2 separate regions of the Homo sapiens genome follow, and region 2 is linked to region 1. The links are contacts of gene promoters, found by promoter capture Hi-C in blood cells and fetal thymus (Javierre and others, 2016). All regions are on one chromosome and are shown on one strand. The core of a region is centred on a gene start or on the middle of the fragment in contact, and the rest is flanking DNA. Distances in the headings are between cores, read along the strand shown. Region 1 holds the start of PTX4 (pentraxin 4). Region 2 overlaps MAPK8IP3 (mitogen-activated protein kinase 8 interacting protein 3).

What was found. The method cuts DNA at HindIII sites, captures the fragments that hold promoters and counts their contacts. A CHiCAGO score of 5 or more calls a contact.
Region 2: a contact is called between a fragment that was not itself captured here and the fragment with the promoter of PTX4 in region 1, in 1 of 17 cell types (endothelial precursors). The highest score is 5.0, in endothelial precursors.

What each region holds. Positions count from the first base shown.
Region 1 is chr16:1,487,133-1,490,962 of GRCh38, forward strand. PTX4 (pentraxin 4) reads right to left here and starts at 1,812. Exons shown (of 3, transcript NM_001328608.2): 1 at 1,637-1,812; 2 at 184-838. The coding sequence starts at 1,777. The HindIII fragment of the contact is 1,633 bases long and covers 363-1,995 here.
Region 2 is chr16:1,744,092-1,747,937 of GRCh38, forward strand. It overlaps MAPK8IP3 (mitogen-activated protein kinase 8 interacting protein 3), which reads left to right. Exons shown (of 32, transcript NM_001318852.2): 6 at 2,938-3,184. Among named protein-coding and RNA genes, the nearest start is that of MIR3177, 11 kb to the left of the region's middle. The HindIII fragment of the contact is 4,285 bases long and covers 250-3,846 here.

The DNA of each region.
Region 1 (3,830 bases), core at 562-3,061:
CTCCTGCCTCCCCTTAGAAAGCCTCTGTGATGACGGTGGGCCACCCCCCCCGATGATCCGAGACCCTCTCCCCATCTCCCGGCCCCTAACTGAACCTCTTTTGAGAAGCCTTTTCCAGGGGGCCTGGTCTAAGGAGGAGCTGGAGGGAAGCCTGGCCGTGAGCTGGGAGCCTGTGGTACTTACTCTCTCCTGGCACCTGGGGGGACCATGCCTGCTGCCGAGGGTCTTTTGGGGCAGTCCCACTGAGTACCCGATGGCTGCCTGAGGCTGGAGGCTCCCGCCTCCCTTGGAGAGGGGCCGAGGAGTCCTGTGGGGGGCCCCTGTGCTCAGAGGCAGCTCGGAGCTCCTGCCTGTCCCTCTGAAGCTTCAGGGAGGTCGGGCCCAGCTCCTCAGGCTGGGTTGGGGTTGGGACCAGGGCCGGCCCGAGGGCTGCAGTGCCAGGGTGGGCCACGGGCAGCCGCCCCTCCAGAGCAGCCAGCCTGGCGCCCTGGCTGTGGACGAGGCCCTCCAGGCGTGCCAGTGAGTCCTGCAGGGCGTCCCTCTGGGCCTTGTGTGCCTTCCTTTCCCGGGCCCGCTGCTGGCTCCTCTCGCCCAGGGTGAGGTCCAAGGCCCGCAGCCGCGTGTCTACTTTCCGGCCTCGGCGCTGCAGCTTCCTCACCCAGGCCTTGAGCTGCGCCAGCTCCCCCTGCACCGAGGCCTGTGACCGGTTGACTGCCTGAGCCACAGCCTGGCTCTCTTCCGCCAGGCTCCGGAACCGGACGTCAACGTTGTAGGACACGTTGTAGTTGCTGGCGATGTTCTGCAGGTGTGTCCAGGTCACCTCCTGGAATCTCCGGAACTGTAAGGAGGACACGGTGATGATGGGGCGGGCCGGGCCGGGCCGGCTGGGCGGGACGGGAAAGGCTTTGCCCTCTCAAGTTGGGAGCAGCGGCCGCGTGCCCGGGCCACGGCCAGCACTGGCTATCTGCCCACCGATTTGATCCCCACTGCGATGCCGTGAGATGTGGTGGGTGCCAGGGACTGACCCCAGGCCATGCAGCTGCACCACGTGGGGTGTGGACTCCAGGCCCACAGCTGGGGCTCTGATCCCCACCGCTCACCCCATAACCACCGGCAAGTCACTTTCCCTCGTGATTCCAGCTCCTGCCTGTGAGCAGGGGACGGCAGGGTGGCCTCATGAGTGCTTTACGAGGCCCAAACAGGAAGCACCCAGCGCAGGCCCGACAGGCCCACAGCACTCCGGAACTGTCCGTGGACCCCGCGTGGGAGTCCGGGAGGCCGTTCACACCGACTGCCACAAGGTGGACCTGTGACCTCCCAGTTTCCACTCCCCATGACACTACCCGGCCCCCATGGCCCCCAGTTCCCCTGACTCCCTTCCAGACCCCCTTCTAGCCTCTGGCCCCACCTGACCCCCACATGTTATGAGGCTTGTGTCCTGTGTGAGTGGAGCCCAGCTCAGCTCTTCCCTGGTGTCCAACTGCAGGTGAAATAATCTTCATGGATGGAAAGAGCGTCACACGCGGTGTTCGTGTCCGCCAAGCCCTGATGTTTACCAATCTGCTTCTGTAACATCCGTCTTCCATCTGCTGCCAATTTAAAAACCCGACTGCGCCATGTCAGGGGTATAACTTGCCTGTTCCTCCAGCCTACGGAGCCTCTCGAAAAACGGTTTCCTGGGCCCCACTGGGGCGGCTTCCTGCGATGAAGCCCCATGTAGATATATAGGCACAAAAACAAGGAAGAAAGACAAGGTCTTCCTCCACGAGCAACCCATCCGGAGAGACGGCAAGGCCCCAGCAGTCTCCCTCCAGCCGCAGGAGAGGGTGAAGGTGGCTCCGTGGGTCTGTCTTGTGTCTCGTCCCCCCAGCTCTCCTGTTGAGTGGTTTTCCTTCTTTGGCCCTGGCTGGATGTCAGGTTCTTCCTGCCGCCTCCATGAAAGGCATCTGCCTTCAAGCCAGTGGGCTCTGAGACTTGCAGGTTCCTAAGGAGACAAGCTTAAAACAGATGCAAACAGTTTCTTTGAAGAATCATTCAGCTGGGTGCAAGCCCGCGGGCAGGAGGCGATGGCTTTAACAGGAGCACATGGACTTGTGCTCCCGAGAAGTCGAAGCAAGACAGGGAACCCGACGGGGGCTGGGGAGTCAACAGAGCCAGGTCTGCACAGGCACCCATCACCCAGGCCGTGCACGGCTGCATCCTGGGAGGCCCCGTCTCTCTCAGTAAAGCAATGGAAATGTGACTGGGAGCCACCTTAATTAATTAATTATTATTATTATTTGAGATGGAGTCTCGTTCTGTTGCCTAGGCTAGAGTGCAATGGCGCAATCTCAGCTCACTGCAACCTCTGCCTCCCCGGCTCAAGCGATTCTCCTTCCTCAGCCTCCTGCCTCCTGAGGAGCTGGGATTACAGGCGTGCTTTACCATGCCCGGCTAATTTTAGTATTTTTAGTAGAGATGGGGTTTCACTATGTTGGTCAGGCTGGTCTCAAACTTCTGACCTCATGATTTGCCTGCCTCAGCCTCCCTAAGTGTTCGGATTACAGGCATGAGCCACTGCGCCTGGCCAATTAATTAATTTTTTTGACGGAGTCTTGCTCTGTCACCCAGGCTGGAGTGCAGTGGTGCGATCTCCGCTCACCACAAGCTCCGCCTCCTGGGTTTAACGGATTCTCCTGTCTCAGCCTCCCAAGTAGCTGGGATTACAGGTATGTGCCCCCACATCCGGCTAATTTTTGTATTTTTAGTAGAGACGGGGTTTCACCATGTGGGCCAGGCTGGTCTCAAACTCCCGACCTCAGGTGATCCACCCGCTGTAGCCTCCCGAAATGCTGGGATTACAGGCATGAGCCACCGCGCCCGGCCAATTTTTGTATTTGTAGTAGAGACGGGGTTGCCCCATGTGGGCCAGGCTGGTATTTTTGGTTACAGGTTGTGTACTGGCTTGAATGAGACCCTCCTAAAAACACACATAAGCCCCAGGCAGGGCCTTATGTGGAAAAGGTCTCTGCGGATGTCATGAAGGATTTTGAGATGAGACCATCCTGGATTATCCAGGTGGCCCTAAAGCCAATGACAGGGGTACAAGAGACAGAGGAGGAGGCACAGAGGACACGGCCTGTGAAGATGGGGCAGAGACTGGGGTGACGCTGCCACGAGGAACCCCCAGAGGCCCCAGAAGCTGGAAGAGGTAAAGTGGGAACCCCCAGCCCAGAGCCTTCGAGGGAGTGTGCACCTTCACTTCAAGACTTCCAGCCCCCAGAACTGTGATAGGACTCATTTCTGTTGTTTCAAGCCGCCCAGCTCATGGGAATAAGATCATCCACAAAGTTGTCCCACTGGGGGCATCCATCATTCCCAAGGTGGCATGAGCCAAGAGGGTGCCAGGCCAGGAAACCATCGGTGGCCCCCAGGCTCCCCTTGTCAAGCGTCAGAACACCATGGACATGGAGAAGATGCAGAAAGCATCGGAGAGAACATCCTGGGCACATGGACGGGGTTGGGGCCTTAGGCCCCGGGGGACTGGCAGCCACCAGGACAGCGACGCTGGTGCCACACACAGAGCGGCGGATCTCGCAGCTTCCAACTGACAGTGAGTTCCATTTATTTATGTATTTATTTTATTTCGGTAGAGAAGGGTCTTGCTATGTTGCCAGGCTGTTCTCAAACACTCCTGGGCTCAAGCAATCCTCCCAGCTCAGCCTAGCCAAAGTGCTGGGTTTACTGGCGTGAGCCACTGAGCCTGCCTGATTTCCATTTAAAGTTGTGGGTCGGGGCAGGGTGTGGTGGCTCTCTCCTGTAATCCCAGCACTTTGTGAGGTCAAGGTGGG
Region 2 (3,846 bases), core at 1,142-3,641, 260 kb after region 1:
ACCTCAGAGCACAGGGGCCCAGAGCCAGGCCACTCCTTCAGGGCCCCAGGTCGCTTGCTGCCAGTTTTGGCCTGTGAGCTCACTGGCCTCAGTGCCAGGTAAGGACAGCCACCTTCCTGGGAAGAAGAGGTGACCCCGGGTCTGGTGGATTTCCCACAGGGGCCGTCAGAGGATGTCCACAGAGGCAGAGCCCTTGGGGCCTGTGGGCTGGGTTGGGCTGGTGGATGTGGGGCCTGGGACTTCTCCAGAAGCTTACTTCCTGCTGCATGCTTTGCCGACTGTCCTTCCACCTCTAAGTGTCCATCGTGCCTGTGGGGGCTGCTGCAGGCTCCTGCTCCGTCAGCCCACCTGCTGCTGCGCTGCTCTGGGAGCGAGCTCCCTCATGGCATCTGGAACGCTCTCCTGTCCTCCCTGTGCTCAGGGCTGGAGAGAGGGTGGCGGGGCTGCGGGCTCCCCGGGCCTTCTGGGCCCAGCCCTGCCACCTGGGCCCACCTCCTCTCACTGTCTCTGGCTCACGCTTCCCGGGCCTGGAGCTGGGACCTGCCCATAGGCATCTGAAGACACGTCAGCCTCAGCCGGGGGGAGCCCTTGCTTGACGCTCTCTGGCCTCCGGGCTGCCTCTCGCGCCCGCTCTGGGCCCGCTCTTCTTCTCATGATGTCTTTCCTTTCACCTCCTGCGTTGTCTGACATCGTCGCTCTCTTCATAAATTGTAGCGTTTTATGTTTTCGTTCATAGGAGTGTTTTATTTGATTTTTCTTTATTTTAAATTATTACATTTAAGTTCTTTTTATTTTATGCTCTAGGTTTTGAAGTTTTTCTAATTTCTTAATTTTTTTGTTGTTTTTTGTTTTGTTTTGTTTTTGTTTTTATGTACTGTATTTTCAGTGTTTTAACCAAACAGTTGTGGCTACTCATGGTGAGGAATGACCGCTAAGAGTTTGGGTTCTTTCAGTGCATTTGGAGGTCACTGCTACACGTTGATGTTTAGGAGGTTGAGAGGTTTGCCTTTAGGTAAGTTGTGGCCAGGGGGAGTGTCCCATGGGTAAGTGGTGGCCCTGTAGGGTGACGGAGAGCTAGGGGAGGCGCAATCAGACTGCAGAATTCCCCGCAGCCACCATGAGGGTCAGGAGCAGGCCGGGGACCCAGCGTGGAGGAAGGTGGCCCAGAAGCGTTTGTCTGATGTGCACAGCTACACCCTGCCTGGCCACATGGGGTTCCCTGTTTTCTCTCTGCCGGGTGGTGGCAGAGTCGGTGAGACACCAGGTGCCTGTGACACATTGGGTAGACAGGTTCTTTGAGAACGTCAGCACAGACTTCTTGCATGAGCGGTACTCGCTTCCTCCAGCGTGGGGAGTGACATGAAGAGCAAGGGTTTTCCTTTCAAACTGGGCATAGCTGCAGAGCCACAGGCCGTCTCAGACATTTCTACAAAGCCACTCCGGGAGGCGGGCTGCGCCCGTGTGAGGGCTCTCCCTCGGCACTGCTCATCTTTTGGGGCTGGACATGCATGGCCTGGGCCGCTGGGACGCGGTGGGTGTGGAGCAGCATCCCTGGCTTCCACCCACGAAAGCCAGGAGCACCCCCTTCATTTGTGACCACAAAAATGTCTCTGGACTTTGCAAGCATCCCCTCGGGGCAGTCAGCCCAACTGAGAATAGCTACTATAGAGGAAGGTGTGTCATTTTGAGATTCCTTCTAGAGAAACTTAGGAGCCTGGTAGATGAAGCAGAAATGTGTCCTCTGAGTGAGTGGCCGTGTCCGGTACTGAGAGGCCCCGTGCCCTGAGTCTGGCGGTGACCAGAGAGGCTGGGCAGAGGCAGAGGTCAGCACTGGCCATGACTTCTGGAAGTCCCGTCTGCCCTGGTCACTTAAAGGCCAGTATAAGTCAGCTGTGGAGAGGGCTGGATACCCCCTCGACAGCTCCTCCCTGGGTGAGATCCTTAGCATTAGAGTCCCCCACGGTGCGCCCTCTGAGAGACCACGGGAACCCACCCAGCGGCTGCCTGGGACAGGCACAGGAGCCACCTGGGTGCCTCTGAGGCCTTGCACTTTCCCACACCTCAAGGAGGGCCGGGGGCCACGGGCAAGCTCTGCCATAGCGGGTGATCAGGTCAGCTAAGACGAGAACGTTTGGGGCTCTTTTTCTCCAGCTGGTTCAGTATCTTTGTTAGGAAAGACCATTGGAAAGAATGTTTGTTTCGCATTCCGCATTAGTCACATAGAATGCGCTCCTCCCTAGCGAGCTTCCTGAGGTAGACGGCTGGTTGCGGTTTCTCGTAATCCGGGCTGCCCCCACCCTCCAGAATGTCTTGGTGGCGTCCCTTTCTGTGAGCAGGGATTGTGGTTTCTTTGCGCTTGCTCATGTTCAGGGGTGAGCTCTGGTCCAGTCAAGCCACAGGGTCAGCACCTTCTGGTCACTCCCTGGCCCTGACCTGAGCCCGGGGAGGAACGTGGGGCAGGCGCGGGTGGGCCCAGCCTCGAGCTCTTCAGCACAGTGATGGTGACGGGGCAGCGGTGGCGGCACAGCCAGCCCTTCTTGGGTCCCCAGTCAGAGCCCTCTGCCCTACCTGGGCTGGACTTGTTTCTGAACAGCCACAAGCTACAGGGGGCTGCCGCTGTGTCCCTGGCGAGGCACTGGCCCATTACAAGCAATCGTCTGGGGAGGGCACCAGTGGAAAGCCCCGTTCCAAGCCATTTCAGGAGGGTGGCCCTGCTTCCGAGGAGCCGGAGTCAGTGGCCGGATAAGCAGAGCCACTCGGGAGTGGTGAGGCCCGGAAGGGTTAGCCCGGTGGGCGGCAGAGGAGCTCTGGCCCGCAGGGTGTCGGGCGAGGCAAAGTGCAAAGCATTGGTGCGCGGGGCCTCAGGCAGCCACGGCGGAGCCGCAGGCCAGGGACCTGCAGTGACTCGCTCTCCCTCCTCCCTGTGTTTGGCCTTAGTGTCCACAGGATGAAATGTCCGAGTCAGGCCAGTCCTCGGCGGCCGCCACACCCAGCACCACAGGCACCAAGTCCAACACGCCCACATCCTCCGTGCCCTCGGCCGCCGTCACACCCCTCAACGAGAGCCTGCAGCCCCTGGGGGACTATGGCGTGGGCTCCAAGAACAGCAAGCGTGCCCGGGAGAAGCGCGACAGCCGCAACATGGAAGTACAGGTCACCCAGGAGATGCGCAACGTCAGTATAGGTGGGTGCCCACCTCCGGGACTCTGGGCTCCCTCGGGCAGGAGGCAGGGCTTGGTTTGGGTAGATGTGAAACTAATGCACCAGGCGGGCAGTGCAGGCAGCAGAGACGTGTTCCTCACAGCCCGGAGGCTGGGGTCCAAGATCAAGGCGCTGGCAGGGTAGGTTCCTCCTGCGGCCACTCCTTGGCTTGTAGACACCACCTTCTCCCTGTGTCCTCAACAGGCATCCCCTGGGTGTGTCTGTGTCCTCATCTCCAGCTCCTACAAGGACATAGCCCCATTGGATTAGAGCCACCACGTGACCTCATTTTACCATAATCACCTCTTGAAAGGCCCAGCCTCCAAATACAGTCATGCTAGGGGGTATCTATTAACATATGGATTTGGGGAGACACAACTAAGGCAGTAGCCTGCGTCACCCCACGGCACACAGCCCCACTAACCAGTAACCTGCATCGCCCCACGGCACACAGCCCCACTAACCAGTAACCTGCATCGCCCCACGGCACACAGCCCCACTAACCAGTAACCTGCATCGCCCCACGGCACACAGTCCCACTAACCAGTAGCCTACGTCACCCCATGGCACACAGCCCCACTAACCAGTAACCTGCGTTGCCCCACGGCACACAGGCCAGTGAGGGAAAGAGAAGAGGGGAATGAG